7 separate regions of the Homo sapiens genome follow, and regions 1, 2, 4, 5, 6 and 7 are each linked to region 3. Evidence: promoter capture Hi-C in 16 types of primary human blood cells and fetal thymus (Javierre and others, 2016). All regions are on one chromosome and are shown on one strand. Each heading gives the region's core, a stretch centred on a gene start or on the middle of the fragment in contact. The rest is flanking DNA. Distances are from core to core; before and after follow the strand shown.

What was found. The method cuts DNA at HindIII sites, captures the fragments that hold promoters and counts their contacts. A CHiCAGO score of 5 or more calls a contact.
Region 1: a fragment that was not itself captured here is called in contact with the fragment with the promoter of LSMEM1 in region 3 in 3 of 17 cell types (total CD8 T cells, non-activated CD4 T cells and total B cells); the score reaches 5.7 in total CD8 T cells.
Region 2: a fragment that was not itself captured here is called in contact with the fragment with the promoter of LSMEM1 in region 3 in 2 of 17 cell types (fetal thymus and naive CD8 T cells); the score reaches 6.8 in fetal thymus.
Region 4: a fragment that was not itself captured here is called in contact with the fragment with the promoter of LSMEM1 in region 3 in 1 of 17 cell types (fetal thymus); the score reaches 7.0 in fetal thymus.
Region 5: a contact is called between a fragment that was not itself captured here and the fragment with the promoter of LSMEM1 in region 3, in 1 of 17 cell types (neutrophils). The highest score is 5.3, in neutrophils.
Region 6: a fragment that was not itself captured here is called in contact with the fragment with the promoter of LSMEM1 in region 3 in 6 of 17 cell types (fetal thymus, naive CD4 T cells, activated CD4 T cells and 3 more); the score reaches 11.5 in fetal thymus.
Region 7: a contact is called between a fragment that was not itself captured here and the fragment with the promoter of LSMEM1 in region 3, in 1 of 17 cell types (M1 macrophages). The highest score is 5.3, in M1 macrophages.

The regions. Positions count from the first base shown.
Region 1 is chr7:113,423,948-113,428,169 of GRCh38, forward strand. No RefSeq gene overlaps it. Among named protein-coding and RNA genes, the nearest start is that of SMIM30, 310 kb to the left of the region's middle. The HindIII fragment of the contact is 179 bases long and covers 1,471-1,649 here.
Region 2 is chr7:111,786,781-111,791,069 of GRCh38, forward strand. DOCK4 (dedicator of cytokinesis 4) reads right to left here. Exons shown (of 53, transcript NM_001363540.2): 31 at 3,677-3,825; 32 at 1,882-1,967. Among named protein-coding and RNA genes, the nearest start is that of DOCK4-AS1, 20 kb to the right of the region's middle. The HindIII fragment of the contact is 3,023 bases long and covers 790-3,812 here.
Region 3 is chr7:112,478,567-112,482,660 of GRCh38, forward strand. It overlaps LSMEM1 (leucine rich single-pass membrane protein 1), which reads left to right and starts at 2,425. Exons shown (of 4, transcript NM_182597.3): 1 at 2,425-2,780. The HindIII fragment of the contact is 7,612 bases long and covers 1-4,094 here.
Region 4 is chr7:111,851,457-111,855,669 of GRCh38, forward strand. All of the region lies in intron 23 of DOCK4 (dedicator of cytokinesis 4), which reads right to left. Among named protein-coding and RNA genes, the nearest start is that of DOCK4-AS1, 45 kb to the left of the region's middle. The HindIII fragment of the contact is 622 bases long and covers 1,125-1,746 here.
Region 5 is chr7:111,833,448-111,837,631 of GRCh38, forward strand. DOCK4 (dedicator of cytokinesis 4) reads right to left here. Exons shown (of 53, transcript NM_001363540.2): 26 at 1,141-1,239. Among named protein-coding and RNA genes, the nearest start is that of DOCK4-AS1, 27 kb to the left of the region's middle. The HindIII fragment of the contact is 2,306 bases long and covers 1,605-3,910 here.
Region 6 is chr7:111,767,627-111,771,719 of GRCh38, forward strand. It overlaps DOCK4 (dedicator of cytokinesis 4), which reads right to left. Exons shown (of 53, transcript NM_001363540.2): 37 at 1,903-2,051. Among named protein-coding and RNA genes, the nearest start is that of DOCK4-AS1, 39 kb to the right of the region's middle. The HindIII fragment of the contact is 1,621 bases long and covers 1,761-3,381 here.
Region 7 is chr7:111,818,490-111,822,206 of GRCh38, forward strand. The region is part of intron 27 of DOCK4 (dedicator of cytokinesis 4); the gene reads right to left. DOCK4-AS1 (DOCK4 antisense RNA 1) reads left to right here. Exons shown (of 2, transcript NR_103806.1): 2 at 889-3,290. Among named protein-coding and RNA genes, the nearest start is that of DOCK4-AS1, 12 kb to the left of the region's middle. The HindIII fragment of the contact is 1,358 bases long and covers 820-2,177 here.

The sequences.
Region 1 (4,222 bases), core at 310-2,809, 940 kb after region 3:
GTCTTGGTTTTGGCCTTAAGGAGTGAGAGGTCACAGACTTTTTTAAGGATCTGCTGATCACTAAGCTTCTTCTTCTCAGCAGATAATATACAATTGGTCCTCATTATTCACAGATTCTGAATTTGTGAATTCACCTACGCACTAAAGTGTACTTGTAACCTCAAAGACCATAGGTCCTTTCAAAGTCATTATCAGATGTATGCATGTGCAAAACATCAAAAACTTTGAATTTCCTGATGTGCACATTCCCAGCTGATGTGGAAACGGGTGACACTTTGCTTTTTTGTTTCCGATCTCAAACTGTAAACGAGTATCCTTTAGTGCCACATTTTTTTTCACATTTTTTGCATTTTGTTAATGATTTCTCTGTTTAAAATGGCTCCCAAGCATGGTGCTGAAGTGCTGTTTAATGTTCCTAAGCACGAGAAGGCTGGGATGTGCCTTATGCAGAAAATGTATGTTAGATACGCTTTATTCAGGAATGATTTATAGTGATGTTGGCCATGAGTTCACTGGTAATAAATTAACAATAAATATTAAATATGATGTCTTTAAACAGAAACACACATAAAACAAGGTTATGTATTAATCAGTTGATAAGAAATGTTGTTCCCAGATGCTCGCAAAAGCTTATCTCTGTATTTTTCCAAGGAAAATAACACTAAATTTCCTCTAGGAGCAATGACTCAGTATTTGCTAATTCTGTGTTCATGGTCACTTTATAAAGCACAACTACTGCAAATATCAAGAACTGAACTGTATACACATAGAAGTCTCCTTCAAATTCAAGGATTTTATGAAGTCATGAGGCCTATTCAAGTATGTTAGATAAAAGCCCTTGATGAAAAATGAATATACTAAATATATTAAGAGCTATCTTACATAAGTAATGGTTTCTCTCAATGAGCTTTTTATAATGGTTATGGGCTCTAAAGTCAAACTGCCAGGGTTCAAACCTTGCCTCTATGACTTTCTAGCGGGCGAGCCTGGGCAGGTTTCTTAATCCAAACTTCCTCATCTGCAAAATAGGGAAATTAAGGAAAGGGATTAGAACATCAAAGAGTACATATGACATTACTAATATTTTTGATTGATTGATTATTAACCAGATACATACAAGAATAATTAGAATTTCTGTTACTTATCAGGGAGGGGGTTAGAGAACAGTGGGCAGCAGATACAAGACAAACAAATACTATTTTTAGACCTCAATGAGTATAAGGTTTCTCAATTAAACTGTCTACTATTCAGCTCCTCATGGTTCTGTTCACAAATGAGTTTGGTGAGAACTAATAACTGAAAGACTAGCCCACAGGGAAGTCAACTTTTTATTCCCAAACTTTGGGCTAAAAATAATAAGACAAAATAGTTGGGCTTTAAAATGAAGGGAAAGAGATTAGCAATTAATGAGATTAAAATATTAAAATGAAAGTTAAAAGACTAAGATAAAAGGCATAAGTAAAGGCAAGAAGCTTAGAGATTATAAGAGGAAAAAAGAAAAGCAAAAGGAAAATGCACTAAAAGCAAATAAGGGATGTGCCCAAAACAAAGCTCAAGGTATGTCCAGTTTCCACAAGGGTTGGGTCCCTTGTAACAGTGGGGCCAACTACAACTCTGATAAACAATTCTTTAGGGATCTACTGTAACAAAGCTTAGGACCACTCAGTTCAAACAACTGGAGGGATTTAGGACAAGCAGCAATTTGTCTAAGCTAAGTAGAACATACTGATAAAATAAATATGATAGTAAAATAATTCTGACGTACTAAAAAACTTCAAGTTTAAGGACCTCTAGCTTTGTTTTTTAACATTGTCTTGGTTATTTTTGGCCCCTTATTCTTTAAAATAAAGTGCAAAAAATTAATTCATCAATTTCCACTGAGAGTGTTTGGAATTTAATCTATTGATTGAATTTGATCTATAGATCAGCTTGATGGTAATTGGTATCTTTACAGAAGTCTTTAAATACGTGAACATAGTATATGTCTCCATTTATTTAGGACTTTAAATTTCCTCCATCATGTTTTGCAGTTTTCGTTATAGAGATCTTACAACTCTTTTTTGTTAGATTTGTTTTTAGGTATTTGATGTTTATGCATACTCTTATAAATAGTATTGCTTTAAAATTTCGTTTTATGTTTGTTTATGGCTGGTACAGCATGCCCCGCATAAAGACAGTTTAATCAACAATAGACCACATTATAAGGCAGTAGTTCCATAAGCGTACGATGGCGGTGGCTCATACCTATAATCCCAGTGCTTTGGAAGGCCAAGGTGGGAGGATTCCTTGAGGCCAGGAGTTTGAAACCAGCCTGGACAATATAGCGAGACCCTGTCTCTGCATAATAATAATAAAGATTATAATAAAGCTGAAAAAATCCTATTGTCTAGTAATGTCACAGCAGTCATAACACCATAGTGCAATGCATTACTAATATATTTGTGGTGATACTGATTTAAACAAACCTACTATGCTGCCAGCCATATAAAAGTATTATGTACAGTATATAATACTGATGATGATAATAAACAACTATGTTACTGGTTTATATGTTTATTATATTATAGTTGTTATTGTTATTTTAGAATGTACCTCTTCTATTTATTTTTTTAAAGCTAACTGTAAAACTGCCTCAGGCAAGTCCTTCAGAAGGTATTTCAGAAGGCATTATTGTCATAGGAGATGACAGCTCCTTTCGTGTTATTGCCCCTGAAGACCTTCCAGTGGAACAAGATGTAGAAACAGAGGACAGTGATATTGATGATCCTGACTCTGTGCATCTTAGTTTGTAATAAAAAAGTTTTAAAAGTTTTTTTAAAATTAAAAGTTTTAAAATTAGAAAAAGCTTATCTGATAAGAATGTAAAGACAGAAAATATTTTTGTGCAGTTGTACAATGTGTTTGTGTTTTAAGCTATATGTTACTATGAAAGAGTCAAACAGTTTTAAAAAATGATTTAAAAGCTTATAAAGTAAAAAGTTGTAGTAAGCTAAGGTTAATTTATCATTGAAGAAAGAACAAATTTTAATAAATGTAATGCAGCCTAAGTATACAGTGTTTATAAAGCCTTCAGCAGTGTACAGTAATGTCCTGAGCCTTCACATTCACTCATCACTCACTCAGTGACCCACCCAGAGCAATTTCCAGCCCTGCAAGCTCCATTCATGGTAAGTGCTCTATACAGGAGACCATTTTTATCTTTTATACCATATTTTTACTGTGTTCTTTCTATGCTTAGATATACAAATACTTATCATTTTGTTATAATTGCCTATAGTATTCAGTATAGTAGTTTGCTATACAGGTTTGTAGCCTAGGAGCAAAAGGTTATTCCATATAGTCTGGGTGTGTAGTAAATAGGCTATACTATCTAGGTTTATGTAAGTATACTCCATGATGTTTGCACAATGATGAAATTGCCTAATGGAATACTTCATAGAACATATCCCAGTTGATTGATAAGTGATGCATAACTGTATAGAGAATAAAACAGTTGACAATAAATAGTAATTGTCATGTTTCCAGTTTCGGGGAAAACTTTCAATATTTCAGCATTAAGTACATTACATATATTGAAATTAGGTATGTTTGTACATCAAAAGACACCCTTAAAGAGGGAAAGAGCAGTCACACAATGGAAGATATTTTAAATAAATAGCTATAGCAAAGGACTTGTATTCAAAATATATAAAGAACTCCTTTAAGTTCATAAAAGTCAGACAACTTAATTTAAAATAGGCAAATATTTGAGCAAATACTTTACAAAAGAGAGTATCTAAGAAGCCAAAAAACATGTGAGAAGATGAGTACATTTATAAGTCATCAAGGAAATAGAAATTAAAACCACAATGTAATACCACTACATACAAACTAGAAAGGCTAAAATGAAAATTACTGACAACATCACATATTGTTGAGTATGTGGAGTAGGTAGAAATCTCACGCACAGCTGATGGGAGTATAAATGGTAAAACTACTTTAGAAAACTATTTGACAGCATCTATTAAAACTCAACACACACGTATTCTCTGTCCCAACAATAATATACTCAACAGAAATACTTAACTATTATTATTAAAATACATGCACAAGAATGTTCATCAAAAACTGAAAAATGGCTCAAATGTCTATCAAGAGTAGAAATGAATGAATAAATATATAACTATTATATATTATAATACACTATAAAACAATGAGAAGAAGAAGTTATTGCTAGAGGAAT
Region 2 (4,289 bases), core at 1,051-3,550, 690 kb before region 3:
ATTGTGATTTCTGTTGCCAAAAAAGCAATTTATTGTTTCCTGAAATAAAGTAATATTTACGCCTTCTTTCTTGTGCTCAGGTAGTAATGACACTTAAGTATCACTTTTGATTTGATTTATTCCCAATATGCTGATCGTAAAAGCATGAAAGGAAATTATTTATAGTAGCATTTCTAGTAATATCCTAAAAATCAACAAAAGTATAAAAATCTCTATTGAATGAATCAGGTACCTTAAAATAGTCCTGATTATAGAGGCTTAATATTTTAATTATTGGTTTGATTCTCATGTCGAGGTACATCTTCTATTTCAAAGTCATATTTATACATGAGCAACTGAAATTGCATATTATCAAGCCTTTATTAAAGTAGATAAGAGGCACTAAAGAACTATGTCAGTATTTATTAATCTTGTGAATTTGTTATAAATAATTAATCACAAATCTCAAGAGATTCATTTCACTGAGTGCTTTCTCATTTTGGTTCTTTGTTCAAACCAAGGACTAGTAACTGAAATGAGAGCAGTTTTCAAAAGCAATTTATTATACTGCATGAGATTTTAATCAGAATTCTTGCTAAACTCCAAGCTGCCATAAAAGACTGAAGCTGTGTACACTAGAATGAATGAGGTCTTGGTGAATAATTATGAAAACCTCTCATTTAATTACCATATCAGAAAAAAATGATACTGTTCAGAATCCAGTACAAAGAATATATTTTATCACCCACCACTACCACAGGAAATCTCTATACCCTTCTTGGCTTTTCCTTTTAATGTAATTTTCTTAAAAGCTTCAAGATAATTTTTAATCAGGCATGCTGAAATCTATCTAACCTATTAGTCACTAATTATATTCTTCAAGCCTATATATTAATGTTTCTACTGTTGTAAATTCATGATCATAAAGTTTTGGACCTGGCCATCAATACTAAAGCACTGATATTTAGTTTTAGGTGATACTTGGGCATAAATACAAACACGAATATATTTTGTCATAGAAAAAAATGTGTTACTGCATTATTTTGCACTTCTGAAAGAACTGCAAACATTTTTCAAGCACAATAAGCAAATTCTTCTTTCAAAAAGAAATACTTTGCACATATGTTAGATTTGAAAATGACTAAGATCCATAGGAAGCTGTAGAGAAAACAAGTGCCAGAAGTGAAATCCCAAAGCACTAAAACATTCTCACTGTATCTTCTGGCCATTTAAACACAACGCATGAATACTTGGTACAAGCAATTCATCCTGTGGCTATGATCAGATTCTATGGGTAGGGCAACCTTAAAGTCTCTTTACAGCATTCCATTATTTCTCTATCTTCCATACAAATCCAAAACACAGAATTTACTAAAAGTGATTTGCTTCTGAGATATTCTAATAAAAAGCATTTAGGAAGCAATTAATGCTGAGCGAACAATCAGTATTAATTAATTAAATCAGGTGTTGAAGAACAGATGCAAACTAGGTTAATTTTCCAACAGCAAATCAGCATCAGTATCTTGCTTTGGAAAGCAGTGCACACAAACATTACAATCACACCCCTTTTCTCCTCTCCCACTTATAACCCCACTTAAAATCATTATCTTGCAGGAATGGTTTTAAAATTATCAGGCATGAAAAGAGGGAGATTTGTTATGTAACATATGCAACCTGTCCTAATCAGAGATTAAAACAGGAAGACATGCCTAATCATCAACATTATAAGATCCATTCGCCAGAGTTAGGCAATTATCCTTTATTTCACACTCCACAAAGACAAAGCCCTCCTGTGAGACCTAAGCTGTCTTTGCAGCTCTCAGCTACCGTGGTGCAGAGAGGCTCAGTACTGACACCAAATCCCCCAGAATGGAATCAACTTGAGATAAACATATTACTCACATACTGTTGAAGAGCTCGCGGTATGTTTCGTCACCTTTGCCTTCTGACATCAGGCTATCCAGTTTGTCAATTAGCTTGGCTTCCACCTGAAACATACCCAACTATTATTCTCTTTCCTCCCCTTCACAAGTAGGATTTCTAGGCAAGTTAAAACGTATTTCTTTGTGCCAAGGAAAAAGCCATGGTAAATTTTGTGAAAGTGACATTATCAGCTACGGTTAATAGCAGGCAACCCTTTGGAATTCTAAGGGACTAATCTAGATAGAGTTACATGACTTCACACTCCTGGCTGGGTAGCGTTTACTGCTGCCAAAGACATCTATCTATTTGTTGATTCAAACACAAATGCTTGCAGCCCAGTTTAAACGTTTGAATTCTTTTTTAGGAGCTAAAAAACTGGCAAGTCCTGTTTCTTTTTTCTTTTTTTTAAACATCACTATATATAAGGACATCAGGAAACTAACATATCCACATACATTAATTTAAATCTTTGATGTGTTTTATATCTATTTTCTTTCTCAAAACAGTTTGAGGTTGCACTAAATCTTTGCTGAAGTTGAGAACTTGCCTTACCCACGTACAGATGGTAGATCCATAGCAATAGTCTAAGTCAGCAATAAGCAGCAAGAGAGAGAAAGGACATATTTCCTGAAAACTGTAGTCAAAACATTTATATTTTCCAGGATGTAAATCCTTTGGAACTTGAATATCAGGAATGGAAAAATATCCCTTTATCTATGTCTATCTGAGGCAGAAGAGACAGAAAATGAAAAACTTCTCTATGGCCAGAGAGAGTTAAAACGATTAGGGACTGGGAGGAATATTTGACTTTGTCAAAAGACTAAGCCCAATTATTATTCCTTTAAACCAAATTTCAATCAAGAGATAAAGACAAGGGGGAAGGAAAGTGGGTTTTTCTTTCCTAAGTACAATTTTTAAATAGTCTTTCATTCATCTATTAGCTTTCTTGAAAATAAATGTGTATACCGATACAGGTGAAACACCCATGCTTTTGGCAATAGGAGGGTTCCATGTCTGCAGTCAGATTGCTTGACTGGTTGACAACCATTCCTGAGATTTGAGGGAGGCTTCTTCTGGAGAAACATGAGGAAGGGTCAAACCCTGTGGGCACACAGGTTTGTGCCATGACTGTGTGAACAGACAGTAGGCCTACTATCTCCAAATTGAAGGACCTGGCAGAGCAAAAGCAGTGAATTCCTTCAGAGATCTGGTTTTGTAATAAGCCTGTTTTCCCAAAACTGGAGTATAACTATTAGAACCTATGTCAATGAGAAATGGTAAGCTCATTCCCTTGGAATTTCCTCTGTAAGAATTTCCACAGCTTTCTCCTTTAAATTAATTCTCAATGCTTCAAGCAAAGAGCAATAAAACATACTGTAAATCAAATGCTCAAAGCTAAGCCATTTGCCAAATACAATGTGCAGACCACTGAGAGCTCAATGAGTTTAATCATTAACTCTCTGATTCTTCTGCTCTGTGTCCAACTGGGTGCAAATAAAGTCTCTGCAAGTTCTTAAATACAGATCTGGGAAATCACAAAATTTTTCAGCTGAAAAGGAATCAAATGGTTTTCAGGGCTTCACTGAAGGCTCAGGACAACACAGGATCTGAGAAGTATCCACGGCTGTGTGGCTTGGGAGTGGATAGGCCAGGCTGGAATCTAGGTCTGCTGACCCAGTGTTCATTTCCCAAGTTGGAGTTGAATCCAGAAGTTCACAGATGCTTCAGGAGAGCTGAAACTCTTCCAACTCTTCTGAGGAGCACTTCTGCCTACCTGTTTAAAGTTGCCACTCCGCCTCTGCTCCCAGTCCATCATATCATGAAAAATTGGAATCATGACATTCCGAAGATCTGGCTGGGGTATCAAGGTCACTTCTAGGAAGGGGCCAATCAGGGCAGGGATAAAATGAAGCTTGTGCTCTCCTAAAGTGAGAAAAATATTTGAGTTTCAATATATTCAATCTTAATATGATTTCAGAAATTAATATCATAAAATTTGTTTAAAACTATTGCTAGAAATATATTCAATTATAGTCGTCTCCTCAAGCAAGAAAATATAATAACCCATGAGATACAATTAAAAATTATATAAATCGGCTGGGTGCAGTGGCTCACGCCTGTAATCCCAGCACTTTGGGAGGCTGAGGCTGCAGATCACGAGGTCAGGAGATCGAGACCATCCTGGCTAACACGGTGAAACCCCATCTCTACTAAAAATACAAACAATTAGCCGGGCGGGGTGGTGGGTGCCTGTAGTCCCAGCTACTTGGGAGGCTGAGGCAGGAGAATGGCATGAACCCGGGAGGCGGAGCTTGCAGTGAGCCAAGATCGTGCCACTGCACTCTAGCCTGGGTGACAGAGCAAGACTCTGTCTCAAAAAAAAAAAA
Region 3 (4,094 bases), core at 1,175-3,674:
TGTTTTTGGCTAGCATTAAATTACTTGCCTCTGTGTAGCTCCATGCCACACTCTTGCCTCTAAATCCTAGGCCTGCCTGAATTCTGCAGGATCAGTCCTACTGTCACTCATCTGTGATAGCCCTGCTAAGGCAGATACCACTCTTCTTACCATGTTCAATACATTTATTGAGCTCTTCAGTATTGTTTCTTCCTATTTTAATTTTTCTGGTTTTGTAATTTGTACTCCTGCTTTTTTACTGGGCTTTTGGGAGGAAGAAGGTATAGAGTGTTAATCTGCATGTTGAATTTATATGCAGGTGACTTTATTCATGAAACTTGTGGTAACTGCTAGACAAGGGTGGCTGGGTGTTCAATGTGTAAGAATGCTTGTGTTTTCTTGAAAGTAGAAAAATGTTGTGTTATAGACTAGTTGTTCATTGCTTGATTCTTGATTAATTTTGCCCGCTTTCATTATTTTGAGGCTCAAGCATTTTGAAGTATTCATTGTCTGTGACTCCTCTTTGATGGGTACTAAATTTCCTGGGAGTGAATTTAGATACCCTGAGATGTAATATATGAAAGAAAAAGCAAATACTTGAGAATGTCCCTAGATTAGACACTTCATGTGAGAATATCTCTTTTTGTGACCCAAAACTCTTTTTTTTTCTTTTGAGATGAAGTTTCGTTTTTGTTGCCCAGGCTGGAGTCCAATGGTATAATCTGCCTCAGCCTCCTGAGTTGCTGGGATTACATGCATGTGCCACCACACCCGGCTAATTTTGTATTTTTAGTAGAGATGGGGTTTCTCCTTGTTGGTCAGGCTGGTCTCGAACTTCCGACCTCAGTTAATCTGCCTGTCTCGGCCTCCCAAAGTGCTGGGAATACAGGCATGAGCCACCGCACTCGGCCCCAAAACTCTTCTTAAAGGTGGTCTTGCAGGTATGTTATAGTTAAAATGAAGTAGGTTGTCTTGCTTTGTTCTTAAGTGGCTTTCCAGAAGTCTAACTGGTCTAAAGGCAGTCTTATCCCCCTCACTGGTGTATAGTTCAATTCAGACTTGAATGCGAGGTATGGGTTTACATCTCATCTCTGCCACTTATAATCAGTGTATCCCTCAACAATTAAATTCCTTAGTCTCCATTTCCTTCCTCCTTCAGGGGAAGTTAATATTCCACAAAGTTAGAAGTTACAGGAGAGGAAAAGTAGTAAACGCCCCAAAATGAGGCAGTTACTTCTATTATATCTTCAAAGGATACATGGCTCAAGGCAGATCAGGTAGTTGGGAGATTTCTTAAAAACAGCATAATAGCTAACATGAACATTTTCATTATTCAGAGAAATTTGACATAGCTTTTTAACGTATGTTTCTGAGAAAAGTTACTAGTTATATTGTCTTCCTCCAAGAATTAGTCTTTGGGTACAGATGAGGCTTGAAAAAATGACATTCCCTCTTAGACTAGGTAGTGTGAAGGGAAAAAAAAAATGACATTCCTCTTCCCCCAAAGCAGAGTGAGGTCCGTATGGGATATAGGTGTAAAGAAAATTTTGGGCCGGGCATGGTGGCTCAAGTTTGTAATCCCAGCACTTTGGGAGGCCGAGGTGGGTGGATCACTTGAGGTCAGGAGTTCAAGACTAGCCTGACCAACATGGTGAAACCCCATCTCTACTAAAAATAAAGAAATTAGCCAGCTATGGTGGCACATACCTGTAATCCCAGCTACTTGGGAGGCTGAGGCAGGAGAATCTGGAAGCAGGAAGGTCTCAGTAGGCTGGGATCATGCCACTGCGCTCCAGCCTGGGCAACACAGCAAGACTCTGTCTCAAAGAAAATTTTGTGGAACACCTATTTTCTCACTGACATGAAAAATGTTTCAAAGATGAATAATGTCCATCAAGCTATGGCAATGGAAGTGAGGATGATAAAGGATTGCACAGTTGTTCACAACCTCACTGTTAGTATCCTGCTGAGATAGTTGGTCTCCTCATCACTGTAGCATCTTTTATGTACAGCAGAGGGCAGAAGCTCCTTGGCATGTATGTGAGGGAACCACATATATGGAAGGCTGTTATTCCTGAGAAAGGAGGATGTGCAGACACTCACAGAACAAAGCCTTTGTAAAGGAAAGGCGGCCGATGAGATGGAGTGCTTCCTTCACCTGTGGTGGGTCTGTATCCATGAAATCGCCCACTCACAATCGCTTTTTGTAGCTACTGGAAGCACTAGGCGTCTGACCTGCCATCATCCTTGTTATGATGTCATAATCATATTCTGTCCGTGTTTATTGCAGTTCTCTGGTTTGTCTGGAGTGTTTGCAAGTCAGTCATCATAGTGGCAGCTTCCGCCTGCTACAGGATATTTATATATGGAAGCATACCATGGCAGGAGTGCTGGAAAGGTGGTGTCAGCTAACAGTTGCTTCAGCCAGATAAGGACGGTAACTTCAGTCCAATAAAAACCTCATCAGTTACCAACTAAATCAGGGCATGGTGTTTTTTTGTTGTTTTCTTTTTAAAGCATAGTTTTAGTAATATATTTACTAAAAACCTTAGACATTATGAAAAAAGTCAGGATTTGGAATCTTACACTGCTTGGCTAAATTGACACAATATAGACCAACAGTTTCATCCTGGGGCTTATGGGTCTCATAGGAGCACCCGTATGCTGAAGAAAGGCAAAGAGAGAACTACAGAATTTGTAGAAAAGTTTTGTTGTAGTTGCTTCTGAACAATTAGTTTTTGTTTGTTTGTTTTGTTTTGTTTTGTTTTTCTGGTAACCTAGCAGTCAAAGCTCACATTTTTGTAAGTAATTTGCATGCTATTACTCTACTGAGACTGAATTATGATTCTCGAGTCTGGGAAGTTTTTGTTGCATGTGCTCTGTGTTTTTCATTTTTGATAGAAATGATTTAGACTTGATTTTAAAAATTACTTCCTGAATGTGAAGAGGCATTGACTGGGAAATGAAATTAAAGAACAAATTACCATGACTCATTCAATAACACTGCTTATTAGCTTTGAATTATGCCCTATTATAACAATTCTGATTTTGTGGCAAGCAATACTGGTGTGAGTTATTTCTGTGGTTTGATACCAAGCACCTGCCTGGTTAAAAAATAAAGCACCAGGCAATTTTTCATAGACAATTATCTTTATTTGTTGGAATATTTATTTGTAAATAGTCAAAGAATTCTTAAATGACAAAAAATCAACTGTTAGCAGTGATCTAAACCAGAGGAAAATGAAATTACTTACATGTTTCCAGTCAAGGTATAAGAAAGGGTTCTGTTAAAGGGATGCTGCTTTAGCCAATCTTGGTGAATAAGCAAATTTGCACACTGGAGTTGAAAGGAGGGTCAAGTTAGTGTGATGAAGAATTGCTAGTAACACTGGCTTCTCCAGCCTTGCTGGTTGTTCCTAGATGCCCTCATTTGGAGATGCCAAAGATAGCAACTACTGGGTGTCAAACAGCCGTGGGGCCTGGTTTTAAGGCCATGTGATCTTGTATCCCTTTACTAGCAGCCTCATGAGTCATTTGCAAGTCATTTGCAGGCTCTTGGAGCCCTGGAACAGCACCCAACTCAGTTTTCTCTGCTAGTTCTTTATTTTTCCATTTGCGTGTTGCAGCTCATTAAAAAAATATTGGAATAGCATATATTTACATTGTGACTTCACTCTAAAGAAGACATTTTCTTTCAAAGCACGTCATGGCTCACTAGGTTGTTGTCTTAGTTTTTTTTGGAGTCACCTTTTGAGTAGATAGCAAGACCAGTAATATGGAGATTTTATTAGCTGTACTCTTAAAGTCAGTTTTTGTGGCCATGATTTTCTAGCTAGGTCTCTATTTTGTAAACATTGATTAAGCCTCAGTATGAAATTGAAGCAACAGCAGATACATTCCTGAAGGGGAAGCTAAGGCTCAAGGCTATTAAGTCAGAGATCCAAAAATGAACCATGCTTCAGTTACCACACCTAAAATAGAAGCTGTGTGCAGAACAGTGGTCCTGTGATGTGACACATAAAACTTTTTTTCCTGGTCACATATTACTGTTTGGTCAAATATTAGTATAAATGGATGATAAAATATGAAACACATCTAAAAGAATTGTTTTAAAA
Region 4 (4,213 bases), core at 186-2,685, 630 kb before region 3:
AAAAAAAAAATTTCTGAAAGAAAACATAGAAGAAAATCCTAGTGACTCTGAGTTAGATACAGATTTCTTAAACAGGTACAAAACCTCAAACTATCAAAGGTAAGTGATAAATTACATTTGATCAAAATTAAAAATTCTACTTGACTTGCACCACTGACCCTGTTTAAGATCCCTATTTGTTGCCTTCTTTCTACTTGAGGACCCAAGAATTAGACTGCTTAGATTAGAGTTCCAGTTCCGTGAAATACTAGCCTCAGTCTTTTCATCTGTAAAACGAGGCTAGCAATGGTAACTCCTCCTGGGATTGTTTTACGGATCATATTAGCTAGCAGTGCTTGGAATGCAATGAGTGCTATGTAAGTGTTATTCTCCTTTCTTCCTCTTTCAATTTTATCCTATATCTATAGATAAAAGTGATTCTGTATGCTACTAAAAGTGATAAGGAGTGCAAATAAAGCATCCACAACTGTGAAAGTGCCTCTCTCTCTCTCTCTCTCCTTCCTTTTTTTTTTTTTTTTTTTTCTTGAGACAGAGTCTCACTCTGTCATCCAGGCTGGAGTGCAATGGCACGATCTCGGCTCACTGCAACTTCCGCCTCCTGGGTTCAGTGATTCTCCTGTCTCAGCCTCCTGAGTAGCTGGGATTACAGGCATTCGCCGCCATGCCCGGCTAATGTTTTGTATTTTTAGTAGAGACGGGGTTTCACCATATTCCCCAGGCTGGTCTTGAACTCCTCCGCTCAGGCAATTCATCCTTCTTGGCCTTCCAAAGTGCTAGGATTACAGGCGTGAGCCACCATACTCAGCCGGAGTCTCCTATTTCTTTTGATGCCTGCCACTGGGTTACCAAAATAACCAGGTCTGGCCTCAGGTTTAGCATCAAAACAGACAACATAAGGCACAGGCATTCTATACATTAAGAAAACAAATACAGAATATTCAAATCCAAACTTGTAAAATAATTCATTGCAAGCCTTCTTTAAACAGTAAGCCTCACCAGGGAACTTAAATACTTATTTACAAATCAATTACTTAACAAAAAGAACCAGAAAAAAAAAAAAAAACCCTGAAAATTTAAGTGCCAGTAGTCATTGCCTAGTAATGTTTAATTAGAAAGGAAGATAAAGCTTATCTGATATGTTCCTTCAGCTAGGGGGATTTGATTTCTAAAAATTCAATTTGCAGCCAATTGTTAAGAAAATATCAACTGCAAAAAAGTAAGTAAGGTGGACAAATAATTTGTGTGTGGCATGTATACAAAGAAATACATAACAACCCAGCTTGCAGATTTGCTTTTTCTCCATTACTTGGGCAATGCCAGCCAGTGCAATTGATAGACTGGGTGGGTAAATGCCAAACAAGCTGACTGGTTGATATGCTAATTCTTACCTTTAAAAGAAAACAACCAGGCCCATCAAATAAGACCCCCCATAAAACAATCCAAGTTGAACATTCACTAACTTTCCATGCATTTAACAACAGAATCTGCCGTGCAGGTTCTCTCCTTGAGAGGGCCGATACACTCATATTCCACATCTCAGATAAAGCTCACTGTGTTGTATGTCTCCTTGAGTGTATAAGGAGTGACTCTCATTTACTTTTTTGGTCTACACTTGAGTGGATATACAGCCAGCTCCCATCAGTAATCCCCACTGGACACGGGACTAGGAAGGAACAAGGGAAGCTGGGTAGATTTCCTCCTTTAGGTTAATTTTGAGGAGTCATACTTTTGCCTCCTCTATCAACAAGCTTTAGACAGGGATCCTTGAAGTCAGCATCAGTCACCAAGAGCGCGAGGTCTGTGAGTTCCATGGCAGCACACAAGGGTTGGCCGTTACATTCCACAAACTGGGCTCTAGCATGGGCTGGACGTGGGCACTGCTGAGGGGCGGCCTCAGTACGGGGAGATTGTAAACAAGGGAGGCAGAAGGACATGTGGCAGCACAGCTTTGCATGTAGCAGAGCTGCTGACTACAGAAAGCCTGACATCAGAGCTGGGATGGGCCTCTGTGATCAAAGCCACCAGGAATTGAACTGCCAAAGTCAGAGCCAGTCGCAAAACCTGCAAACAAGCCTTTCAGACACTGGAATACAGACAACAAGAACTCAGAGAGGAAAGGACTGCAGATTCAGTGGGCTACGTTCTCATGCAGACAATGTCAGGATCACAGAGGAAAGCAACAGTGGAGGGCTACGGATGATCCCTGTATTAAGCTCCCAGATCCCACCCACTGGCTTTAATCCCACCCTGAATGCCTCCACCTCAGGCATCCTTCCTAAAGCAAGACACATGTACTGTGTACATCTTACTTTTGGTAGTTACGCCACCTCCTGGCCTGGGACTCCTACATAGCCACCCTGCCACACACTGTTTTATTGTCATATTCATGCTCATCCTGAGCTCAAAAAGTTGCTTTTCCAATAAGATTTTTTTAAATACACATCATTTATTCAGTAGCTTTTTGTTGTTGTTGTTGTTTGGTTTTTTTTTTGCTTTAGATGGAGTCTTGCTCTGTTGCCCAGGCTGGAGTGCAGTGGCATGATCTCGGCTCACTGCAACCTCCTCACAGGTGCAAGTGATTCTCCTGCCTCAGCCTCGGGACTAGCTGGGGCTTCAGGTGCAGTCCACTGCACCTGGCTAATTTTTATATTTTTAGTAAGGGAGGAGACCACCCCTCATATTGTCTTATGCCCAATTTCTGCCTCCAAAGAAAGAAGAAATGAAAATTAAAAGGCAGAAATGAAATTCACAGGCAGACAGCCTGGTGCCACACCCTGGGCCTGGTAGTTAAAGATCAACCCCTGACCTAATCGGTTATGTTATCTATAGATTACAGACATTGTATGGAAAAGCACTGTGAAAATCCCTGTCCTGTTCTGTTCCATTCTAATTACCAGTGCATGCAGCCCCCTGCCTGCTCAATCGATCACGACCCTCTCACACGGACCCCCTTAGAGTTGTAACCCTCAAGAGGGACAGGAATTGCTCACTCGGGGAGCTCAGTTTTTGAGACGTGGGTCTTGCCGATGCTCCCAGCCGAATAAAGCCCTTCCTTCTTTAACTCGGTGTCTGAGGAGTTCTGTCTGTGGCTCATCTTGCTACATTAGTAGAGACAGGGTTCCACCATGTTGGCCAGGCTAGTCTCAAACTCCTGACCTCAGGTGATCCACCTGCCTTGGCCTCCCAAAGTGCTGGGATTACAGGCGTGAGCGACCGCACCCAGCTATTCAGTAGCTTTTGCTACTGTATCCCGATCCCTAACCCATGATTCAGTCAGTACCTAGTGTTCATGAAACATCTATTAAGCACCTACTTTGCACCAGGCACTATTAGGGAAGCTAAAGATATCATTGTGATCAAGGCAAATAAAGTCCCTGGCCTCTGGGGTTTCCCTTCTGGGGTGGAGGAGGGAAACAGACGTTAATCAATGAAATACCCAATTCTCTATTTCATTATAATTGTGCTAGGTGATTCAAGAAGCAAAACACAGTGTACTATAAAAGTGATAATTGAGTGGGTGGGGCACCAAAATTTCTTGAGAAAATGAGAGACTAAACCATGAAGGATAAATGGGAATTAACTCTGTTGGGCAGGAGCTGAAGAAAGTGGATTCCAAACAGAGAAAAGTAGCAAGGAGATGAGATGAGGCAGGTGGACGGGGCCACATCACAGGGCATGGAAGATCAATTCTGGAGAGTGCCCCCCAATAAAACAGAACTGGGATGTGAGTAGGAGCTGGGAGTGACATCATCTGGTATGTTTCTGAAGGTAACTTTGGCTAATAGATGGGTGGTGAAAGGAAATACAGGAAACAAGGAGAGAAAAGACAGAGGCAGCTCAGAGCAAGTGCAGCTGGACTAGAGAGGAGGCAGTGGGGGTGTGGAGAAGCTACAGAGGCACGTGAGGTTTCTTGGCCACAGACAGAGACAAAGGGCAAAAGGGAGAAGGAATGACTCTGAGGCTTCTAGGTGGATGGTGCTGCCACCTACTGAGCCAGGAAAGACTAAGCTCAGAGAGAAAAAAGTTGAGATTTTCATTTTAGACATGCTGAGTTTAAGGAGCCTGTGAGATATCCACCAGAGATGTTAAGAGCACAGTTGGATACTCAAGTTTGGAGCTCCGAGGAGAGATCTGGCCTAGAAATATAAATGTGAGAGTTAGGTCAGCACATGGATGGCACTAACTGAGGCTAAGCAGGTGGAATGAGCCCCAA
Region 5 (4,184 bases), core at 1,508-4,007, 640 kb before region 3:
GCAGGAGGATTGTCTGAGCCTAGGAGTTTCAGGATGCAGTGAGCCATGATTGTACTACTGCACTCCAGCCTGAGTAACAGTAAAACCCTGCCTCAAAAAAAAAAAGAAAAAAGATTCAATGTAAGAATGAAAAACATGATGCCATATGCCAAATGACTGACTGCTGAGGGATTAAATCTGCCAAAAATGATTCTTTGTTTTATATGACTCAGCTTTTCAAGTTCTCTAAGGTAACAACAGGAAGATTTTTCTGAGATCATACAATATTTTCCAGTTAAAGTCAAAGATAAGTGACCCCTATGTACTATCTATATTAAAAAATCAACAATTTCTTCCCCTAAGGCACTGGGAAGGCTTCCAATCAAGCAAATGTCATAGCAGAACTGTACTTTTGGTCCTATAATTCTCCACCACCCAGCTTAAAAGCAACAATTCTAATATGATGGTTTCCATATGAAATTTGTCCAGAAAACTGAAGAGATGGAAGAGAAATAAAAGTAAATAAGGAAGATGACAGATCATATCATTCCTCCAACTAAGAATAATCAAGCATTTAGTGAAACCATGAAGGATGCATTACAGTTCTGTGAATCTCAGCAAATACTGGATTTTTATAAACCTGGCATCCTTATTTCCTATTTAATGTCAGCTTGTCAGAGTAGCACAGCATATTGATTAGACTATAGCTGATAGAGAATATCAAATACAACTCTGTATCCCTAGTCAAAAAGTTGTAGCCAGAACTTCTCATTATGGTTTTAGTGAGATGAAATGAGTGAACATATTTACATATTCTCTTTTATCTTCTATTAAGGCAATGTTTCTAGGTTCACGTAGTTAATCTATTTGTTTTTATCTCTTCAGTTCTGTTATTCTGCTTCTAGTTTATTGAACTTTGATGACAGGTACTTCACATCCTATATCCTTCTCTGAAATGAGAGTTAATAGCTTTGCTTGAGTAATAGAAATCTTTAAAAGCCAATATAGATGAGCAGATCTGTGGATGAGGCTGAGAAAAACAGCTTAGAACTTAATGGAAACAGGTAAAGCAATTGTCTAGGATTTATCTCAACAGTGATGAATAAAAACAAGATAAACCCAAAAGATATGTTAAAGAAAACATTTTAAAATGTCACTTACCCTTAGTTCTTCCTTTGTATTAAAACTATCAAGAAGCTGTTGATAATGTCTATCTGTCATTTGTCGTAATAGGGACAGGAGACAAGCAACAAACTCCCCCTAAGTTAAAAAAAAAAAAAGCATACATTTTATTTTTAGTAAGGACGTAAAAGAACATCAGTAACTTACACTGAACTGTCCTCAAAGAGAATAGGTTAAAATGAAATCACGATGATCCAAACTTGCCCTGTGAAGTCTTCTTAATATAAATTATCCAAAATGTCACAGCCAAAACTCCCTATGATGATTACCATTTATTTACTTGGTATTCACAAATTTATAATTTTAGGGAGGATTTTTTTTTTTAACTTGAGTGGAAGCTTTTCACTTGGGAACTAACTTCACACATTTAAAGAAGGTAAGGCACCGAGGGTTTATGATCATTTACTGAGCATTTAACATGTCTGTAATAATTCTAACATTTAAGCTTCATATCAACACTATGAGGTAGGGGGTATAATACCTTTTTGAAGAAGGTAAAATGTAGTTTCTGATGTGCTAAATGACTTGCCCCAAGTCACTCAGCTAGAAAGTAGCAGAGCTGGCATTATCCCCAGTCTTTCTGCCTCCAAAGCCCTTCCTGTAGCTTCATGCTCCATTTTTGAATTCAAATGACCTCCTCCAACTCATCAGAGAGTTGATCTGCTGACTCACAGGGTATAATGAATGCCATATGTTGCATAATGTTCATTTCAATCTCCTTTTAAAAAATAGTTTTATTCAGATGTCTTGGAAGATTGAAAACAATTTTTTTAATTGGCCATTCTTTTTGTGCTTGGGCTCTATGTGATTTGTAACCATAAATTCTAATTCTTAAAAATTAACAATAAAAAAGTAAACATAGCATCTATGGATTTGAAGACCTACATAAAATTGCTATCACTTGCATTTTTGAATGAACTTCTAATTTAAAATGCTTGCATTTTCAATGCAACCTTTTGTGCTCAGCAAAGAATTTATCTACTTTTAAACAGAGTAATAACATTTAAAACAAAACAAATACAATAGGAGAGGCAATCACTGGTAACTAACTGTATATTTACAGAAGTGCAATTTAATTGGGAACTGGTTTCTTAGATTTTACATGGAAAGAGACTACAGACTTTATAAGTAGAGACTAAAAGCCCTGAGAAGGGAATTTTTCAACAGAAGCAGCTGGGTGAGGAAAATTCAATGTATCCTCGCCCACTGCCATGGGAGACCCAAGGATGCTATAATACTTAAAGACCATGTCAAGGCAACCAGGTACTCAGGCTAGATCTCTGTTTGCAGATAATCATTTGCAACACACAGGTATGACAAATAATTATCTATATACATTTTTTAGGGTAAATATTCAAGAAACTAACCAGTGTGGGCCAGAAGAAACATCCTTCAAGCTCAACATATACTTTGTTAATGAACATGGGAATCCTTGATATTTAACAAAAGAAATAAAAAGTTTAAAGGCAATATTATTAATATTTTTGTATATGTGTGTAAGGTAGTAACCCAACCCAACACTAGGAAAAGAATGATCTAGAAGGATTGAGAGAACAGTGCCTTGTGCTCACACAGGACTGGGAATAATAGAGCCTTTTTTTTTTTTTAATACCAGCCAGACTGGAAAAACCTCACAATTAATAAGGCATTAGTTAGAGTACCAAAAACAGTGTTTCCTTAGTACTGGAGAAAAACTACTCCTAGAGTAATGCTGTTCTGGTCCTACCTCACAAATTTCAAAAGCAAGACCTAAAATGATCAAATAGTTTCCAATAAATTTAACCTCACTCTATAGCAAAGCTCAGATATTTTTTAGAAATTAAAAAAATCCACCTGTCAACAATGTAAAATTCACAATAACTGGCATGCAATGAAAAATCACCAGGCAGGTCAAGAAGAAGGAAAAAATGACGCAAATGAGGAGAAAAAGTAATATATCAATAGAAACAGATCCAGAAATGACATAGATAATAGAATTACCACACAAGAACATTAACATAGTTATATTACTGTATTCTAATTTTTCAGGAAGCTAGAGGAAAGACTGAATATGTTAATTTAGAGACATGGAAGACATAAAAAGAGCCCAAATTAAACTTCTAGAGATGAAGGCTACAATTTGTGAGATGAATATTAATTGAATGGGTCGAGTGGCAGATTAGACACTGCAGAAGAAAAGATTATTGAACTTGAAAGGTAGGGCAGTAGAAATTCTCCAAAATAAAGCATAGACAGAAAAAACTGAAATAAAAAGAAAAACAGAAAAAAGCATCAGTGAACTGGAGGACAACTTCAAGTAGCAGAATATCTATGTAACTGAAAGTCTCAGAGAGAAGGAAGAGACAGAAAAAATAATTGAAGAAATGAGAAAAAAACTTTTTCAAACTCTTTGAAAATTATAAACCTGTATATCAAAAAATCTCCACAAACCCCAAGCACAAGAAACAAGAAGAAAATTACACCAAGGCACATCATAATCAAATTGCTTATAGCCAGTGGTAGAGAAAATCTTAAAACACTATTCAGAAAAAAAAGGGGCACATTACATAGAGAAGAACAAAGACAAAGATGAGAAAAGATTTCTCTTGGAAAGAACACAAGCTGAAAGACAACGGAGCAACAGCTTCAGAGAACTAAAAGGAAAAAAAACCCCAAAAACTATTAACCAAGAAAAATATCTTCCAAAATATAAAATATAAAAATATCTTCCAAAAGCAAAGACAAAATAAAGACTTTTCAAACCTCCCAAAGCTTATTCACCACCTCTATTCAACATTGTACTGAAGGTTTTAGTCAGTGCAATAAGGCAAGAAAAGGCAATCAGGAATACAGGTTTGAAAGGAATTTTTAAAAAGCTGTCTTTCTTCACAGAAAGCGTAGCTGTGTATATAGAAAAAGCTATGAAATTGATAAAGAGCTACTGGAACTAATTGAGTTTATTTACATTCCAAAATATAAGATCAATGTACAAAAATAAATTTTACTTCTACACACTAAAAATGAACAATCAGAAATTGAAATTT
Region 6 (4,093 bases), core at 1,321-3,820, 710 kb before region 3:
CTACCACAACAGTCATTAATATATTGTACATGAACTATATTTTCTGGTGTCATTCCAGAATCATCTTGAAATGACTACAGTTCCACAATGGCCGAGTAGATGGATATAAACAGGCCCTCAGTGCAGAGGAGAGAATTACCACTGACCCCTAAGGCCCAATTATCTGTGACTGGTACCCTGGATTCCTTGCTTGGCTTAGTTGTGCTTGCAAATTGTGAGAGGTCTAACCAAGTTGGTTACTCTCAGCAGAAATGTAAAAATTCTTTAATCTAGTATAGGTGTCAGCAAACATTTTCTGCAAAGGGCCAGAAAGTCAAAACTTTAGTCTTTGAGGACCATTTAGTTTTTGTCACAACTCTGCTGTACTCAATTCTGCTGTTATAGCACCAAAGCAGCCATAGACACAATTAAGCATGGCTGTGTTCCAATAAGAATTTAGGGACACTAAAATGTGCATTTCATATCATTTTCACATGTCCCAAAATGTTATGATTCCTTTGATTTCTTTCAACCATTTAAAAACGTAAAAGAGATTTGTAGCTTTGGGGCTGTACAGAAACAGACAGTGAGCCATTTGACCTGTGGACCATAGTTTGCAACCCCTGATCTAGCACAGACTCCCGGGGATGGACCAATAAATGAATTCAGAGAGTTTGCACCACTTTATCCCACAGGTGGAAACTTTACAGCAGGAGGGCACAAAAACATTTCTTTTGGTATTCATGTAATGATATGTCAGTGTACCTAGATAAATAATAAAGGAAGATGTGGAAGAAGCAACTTCCTTGCATCAAATTTTTACGTGTACCCAATTATATTTTGTAAAAGAATTACAGCCATTGGTTGTATTTTAATTTTCTGTTTAACCTTTGCAATCTGGAAGATAAATTTGAGTCTAAGACATGTACCACCAAAGCATCCAAGTGTTCAAATCCAATAAACAATGGCGGTCAGATTCATGAATTTTTTAAAAGAGTACTACAAGCCCTTGAAGAGGGGTAGGAAGTGGAGGGAGGTGATGTACTGAATTGCTTTATGAAGTCAGTGAGGTTTTTTCAACACCTCAAGGCATCTCTTAAGTATATGATGGGATGCCACAAAATTCTTTAAACAAATTAAGTTTCATATATTTTACCTTAAAGTATAATGGAGCAGAATGCATGCCAATTTCGGGAGAGTGTGAAGGATGATAATGGTTTTTCAGAGAATACAATATCTGCGTGCTATGGTCTGCATGTTTGGGTCTCTGACAAATTCATATGTTGAAATCCTAACCCCCAGGGTAATGGTATTAGGAAATGGGGTCTTTGGAAGTGATTAGGTCATGAGGGTAGAGCCCTCACGAATGGCATTAGTGCCCTTATAAAAGAGGCCCCAGAGAGTTAGCCAGCCCCTTTCACCATGTGAAGATACAGCAAGATGGCCCTCACCAGACACTGTATCTGCCAGGGCCTTGATCTTGAACTTCTCAGCCTTCAGAAATGTGAAAAATAAATTTCTGTTGTTTATAAGCTACCCAGTCTAGGGTATTTTGCTAAAGCCGCCACGAATGGACTATGTTACTGGGGATCAAAATCTCTAAATCGGTGTTTATCAAAGTGTAATGAAAAGGTCATGCACATTGGACTCTCCTAGGGTCCTTGTTAAAATCACAGATTCCCCAGCCTCATGCCAGACAAGGCACGAATCAGAATGGCTCATTCAGAATCAAAATGAATCAGAATGGCTAGGAGTGGCACCTAGGAATCTGCATTTTAACAAGCTTTTGGGTGTTTCTAATATACATTAAGATGTGAGGATCCCTGCTTAAGGAGGTGGGCATTCATAAACTAGAAATGAAAGGGAAAGGGACATCAACACCATCACCCCAGGAGGGACCCCGGGCGGGGCAGGGCCACTTACTTTGCCTCTGTCAAAGTTCTGGATGATGGTGAGGTGCAGGTGCTCTTTGCGCTGCCATTCTGTTTGCATGGGGTAGGTCAGGAACTCCCTGAGGGGCCGATCAGACCATTCCAGTAGCTCGTCATATAAGAGGAGGGTATATGCAGCTTCTGCAAGTCACGTGAGAAGACAATGATTGAGACAGGACCCCAAGCCACATTCCCTCAAATGTGGCCAGTTTCCGACAAACTGGGGAAAAAAAATACTATTTTCTAAATTTCGTGATATAGCAGAAAAATATCCAGAATATATGCAGCAGTAGGGTAATGAACGAGGACTTCCCCTGGATGATGGACTTGGACTAATCAGATCTGTATTTCATCTTTTGTTTCCTGTATTTTCGTTTCTGTTTTTGTCTTTTGTTTTTGTCTTCCCTAAAATGTCTGTATGCTACAGTATAATCAAAATGTGTAAGGATATCATGCTGTTGCTGGTTCAAAGATGTGGGGAGACAGGCCTTTGTTTGCTGAGAGAGTTCACTAGTAAGTTCCTTGGGGACTATGAGCATCCCCCAAAGGGCAGGCTTAGGAAATAAAAAATGGCAAATTCTTTGGGATAATAAAGGGCTGAAAAATCGAAACTGGTGAGGAGGGGGTTCAGAGTGGAGGCAGAATTTACAAGGGGCAAAGAAGCCAGAGAGGAGCTGAGTGAAGACCAAAAAAAAAAAAAAAAAGAAAAAGAAAAAATCTAATAACAGGGTAGGGATTGGAGAGGGTGGAAGTGCTGCATGAGGAGTGGGGGGAGTGTGTGGGTGTGTGGGTGTATTTGTGTGTGTGAGAGAGAAAGAACCGTTGCAGGCTGTGTGATATGACTGCCTTGCCCCAGATGGCCCCACAAATCTTCTGTAAAGAATACTGATATCATTACATGCTTGGCATGGTTGGATTTCCTGCAGAAACAAGGGGTGATTTTCCATATACACATAAGTGGAAAAGGTGACCTATGGATTTAAGTATGGTTGGCAGATAGTGTATTTGACAGGATACTTGCCATTCTGCAGGTCTCTCCTTTTCCTGAATTGTAAATATAGCCCAATAGATCAAGAATAGGAACCAGAATTGTCACTGATAAAGGACTATAATAATTTTTCCTATAATGTCATAATAGCCTACTCAATTACTCAATTGAATAAAATGGACAAATACTTATGTTATTAATCCATTTAACTCCACCTCAGGTTTCTCAAAAGACATAATGATAGCTTTTAAGATGGTATCAATAATGGTAATTCCTTTTCTTCATTTATTTGCCTTTAGGGTAACTACACATAAAGCCCTAAAGTAATATGCTGAGTTATAATGCTATGATGTGGCCATCTCCATGTAAAAAAGATAGTTGCAATAAGAAGGGCCAGGGCCCCTATCACAGGCACTGGTCTTTTTTCTCTTCAATTACCTTTGGTGAGCTTATACAATCTCCTGGTTCAATTATTATTGTGAAAGCTTTCCTAATCCACCAGCAGTCTCTTATCCCCCTCCATTCAGTTTGCACAGTTAGCAATATGAACTTCTTTCAATGCAAATAAATGATCATGGTTAAAACCAGTCCATGACTCTCAGTAGCTCAAACAATAAATTTAGGCCTCCTACAGTGACAGAGAAGGTTGCTCATGATCTGGTTCTTACCAAGCTCTCTATCCACATTTTCTCACTGGGTCTCCATGTAGTACAGGTATGAAAGAGCCCACCTCCATCTCTTTTAAGAAGCTTCAGTAGCTGCTGAGGCTCCAGTCCTCATAGTTGGAGCCCCCGGACCCCATTATCCACTTTCCAGGAATGAGCAAGATGCATTGTGGTCCAGAGGCAGCTGGGCACAAGAAAGCTGCCCGACGGGGACAGTGATGCCTTCTGTTGCATGCACTCTTGCTGGTCTCTTTCTTAATGGGATTGAACGTGAGATGGACAGAGAAAGCAGCCACTAAAGGGTGTCAGTTAACTGGCGGACACAGACACAGAGCTGAATCACCATAACATAGGTAGCCATGGAAGACTACTCTGATTGCACAAGAATTATAATAACCAGATCCTCAGAAGGGTGCTGTTATTTTAACAGGCATCTAGTTTTCTCTGACATCCCTGAGATGATTTCCTGATGTTTAATTCCCCATGTATCATTATAATAAACGCTAAGTATCTAAGGAAACCCTACGCAT
Region 7 (3,717 bases), core at 249-2,748, 660 kb before region 3:
TTTTCTTCTCTCCCACCCACACCCAGTCACTTGCAAGTCTTATCATCCTTATTTCCAAAACCAATCTTCTCACTACCTTCATTGCTATCCGCCCGTCCAAGTCATCATCAACATCTCTTACCTGGATGGCTGCAGTAAGCTCCTAACTGGTTCTCCCTGGTTTCTCTTTGGTCTCTCCACATATCAATATCTGGGTTCTGTCTTCCTCCACCAACCTCATCTTTACTGGTTCCTTCCCTCCCCACATTTCAGCCACACTAACAGTCTTTCAGTTCCTTGAGTGTGCCACATTTACTCTGGCCACAGGGCCTTTGTAGATGCTACCTACTGATAGAATCATTATTCCTTTGCTGTTTGTTACCCCCTGCTAAGCTTTCAGTTCAAGCTTCACTCCTTCATGAAAGACCCCTCCTATTCTAGTCCAGAACAATGTTCACTTCATAACACCCTCATATCACGGTGCTCTTTGTCTTTATAGTACTTATTTTACACATCAGGCACTGGAAAATACTGGCTGAATAAGTGGGTCAGTAAATGAATGGACAACCTCTCTAAGAAACTTTGATTTAACAAATCGCTTTTTGGCTACATAGATCTCATTTGAAACCCAAGTTGGTTAGTGCATGATATGTTTGAGGCCAACATGCACACAAGATAACCAAAATAAAGACCTGAAATTTCAACTGAAGAGAGAAGGAGTTTTTACCTTCCTCAGTAAGCAAGTGTGTTATAAGGTTTTTCTTCTTGAAAATATGTATAAAGCTGTGACTTTATTTTTGTACTTTATTTCACAATGTGTATGGGAAGGGGGTGGAGAGAAGCTTGTCTCAAAGTGTCCTGTATTTTTGGTACTTAATTTTCATCTTCCTTATGTTCCTTCTTTCTTAGATTGAGCAGTTGTTGTCATCAGAAACATCTACCAGGAACTTACAGGGGGTCATGAGATAGCTCTACAGCAAACAAGAAAGAGAAGAAATGCTTCTTGCCCTGGCAGAATTATAAGTGGGCACACTTGCTATGTTATACAATATTAGGCATGCAGTAGAAAAAAACAAGGAACCATACAAATCACCAGGTGTCTGGTCACAAACTCTGGCAGAGCTTCACACCAAGCAGGCAAGCTACAAGATTTGGAACAACACAGCTTATAGATGAAAGTTAAAGGCATTTAATTTACTTGAAAACAGAGGAAGAAAGGACCAACACATAAAAGAACATTCATTTTGAGGGATGAGCAATTCAATTGAGTTCAAGGGTAGAGCAATGGTGACTTCTCAGCCACCTGCTATCAATTTGACATGTATTAAGCACACGACTGGGTTAATAAAAGTGGGAGTTTGGGTTAAAATGCCCTTTGAGAGGCCCTGAAAAAATGTTTGTCTAAGAAAGTTGAAACTATGGAAGAAAAGGTGGTCAACTTCAGAGACATAGATGTAACTCCTGCAACGTGCTTCAACATGGTTTAGCCAAGCGGAAACTTTTTCTTCCTAGTGTATGCTCTTTAACGTATTTAAGATGTCCTTAACATCTTTCAGAAATCTACTTTTCTACCAATATTATATGGGTTAATATTTTTCATAGATAAAGCACAAATAGTAGAGGGCTAATTTTCAGACTATGCTGCATTTATGAAGCAAAGCAAACCTCATCTGCTTTCATGACTTGAATGGAGGAGAATGGTTAGAGACTATTAAAAGAGGAGAGGAGAGGAAAGAAGAGGCAAGAGCAAGAACATACAGCAGACTGGCTGCTCCAACTTGGCAGTGGTCTCTCTAGTTCCTGGAGTCCTGTCCATGAATGAGGTTGGACTTGCAGCCACCAGCCATTGCCAGTGGAGAGGCAGCGCCAGACTCCTACCAGCACTCACATGGGTGGCAATGGAATGAAGTCACCACATTTAGCAAAGGGTGATGGCACATTTCTTGGGTTTGCTATGGGAGTAACCTTCTGTTTAAATGTATTACACAGAGCTCATCTCTAACAAAATCATCTTCCTATTTGGTTAACACTGTAAATGAAAATTCTGAACAGTGTGTGTTTACGCAAAGGTAGAATCTATACTCTCAGACTGCTATCCATTTGTGTGACCATAAAGTCTTTAAAACTGAAGTAACGATGGGGCAGAGAGAGGCAGTATTTAATATCAAAAAGCCACATGGTTGTTACAATTTTAGGCAAGCTTAAGCAGAAATTGTATATGTAAGGAATAAAATGTCAATGTTACTTTCAGTTTGAATTTCTACCACTGAAATTTTAATTCAATCCAAAATATTCCTCTGCACATGAGTCAGGCAGAATGACCAAATGTTGATGCTGCGTGATGATGATGTCCATAGCCTGGACCTCTTCCCATCTGGCTCCTTGGATTACCTCACAGCCCTTCCTAGGTACCCAGAATGTTTGCTCTTTGGTTATAAGGCCAGATGAATGAGCAAAAACTCCCACCTAAATCTGTAGCATGCGGACAACCAAATGAATAGATATTTGATTCTACTCACAGATATCAAACTAAATATGTTAAATTCTAAAGAGAGCTATTTCAACACTCTCAATCTTCAAAATGGAAAAGCTGCTTCTGTACTTATGTAAAATATAATATGCTATGTTATACTATTTGTTACTTCACAAAGTTTTTAACACATCATTTTAACACCTCCAAGTCTATAAATGTATACTGCAGCAGAAGCCATATTGAGCATATATAATCAAAATCGAATCCTATATTCCTGCAGCTCTCACCACCATCAAAGCTTGCCATCTGGAGAAAACACAGGGCGACCGTGGCCTACAGATAGATGCTTAGAGAATCCAACCTTCATCCTGAGCATGAGGGTGTTGGCGTTTGGAAAAGAGGAAGAAGGGGAAGCAGGCAAATGTGGGCTTGGAGAGTGACAATGCTAATGAAATAGGGTAAATAACAAGCTTGGAAGTGAAGACCAGGCCAGTTTCCTAGAACACTTTTCCATTCTGTATCTTGAGACTATGGAGACAGGAAGTGGAGAGAGCAGATAAATCCATGACACTGTACTCTCCGGGATCAGCTCCTGCCATTCCGACTGCCCTAATATCCTTTCCTGCCTCCTCTCTCTTCTAGTATTGCTCTCAGATCATGCTGGATATGCTTAATATAAACTGAATTTATCATCTTCTAGAGATTCCAATATCGACTTTATGTCAATAACCTCCCAAATGCCTGTATTTTGTTCTGAAGTTTCCTCGGGGCAGTATTTTCAGCTCTCTATTGGCCATACCACTTGGATGAATAAAAAGAACGTCAATCTCCATGTGTCCAACTCAAAGGTCATGTCTTATTCCCAGTGTTGAGCAGATGCTTCATGTATGTATTTTGTTGAGAAGAATTAAGAAAGATCAGAAATGATTCAAATTTCTAGTAACAGAGAATTGGTTAAATAAACTATGGTATGGTCATTCAATGCAATATTATTCAGCTGTAAAGGAAAATACACAGAAGAATGAAAGGCTTTCTATCTATTAATTTGGAAAGATTGCCAGGATTTCTTAAGAGCATTATACAGAACAGTGTGTATATTACATTACCTGCTGGTCTCTGTATAAAGGAACACTAGGAGGACATGTAAGAAACAAATACAAGTGGTTATACAGCCTAGGGGAAGAGGGTCAATGGGAACAGAACTTCTCAATGCATATGCTATTATGTTGTTCGATTTCTGAATGATGTTAATATATACAAAGGAA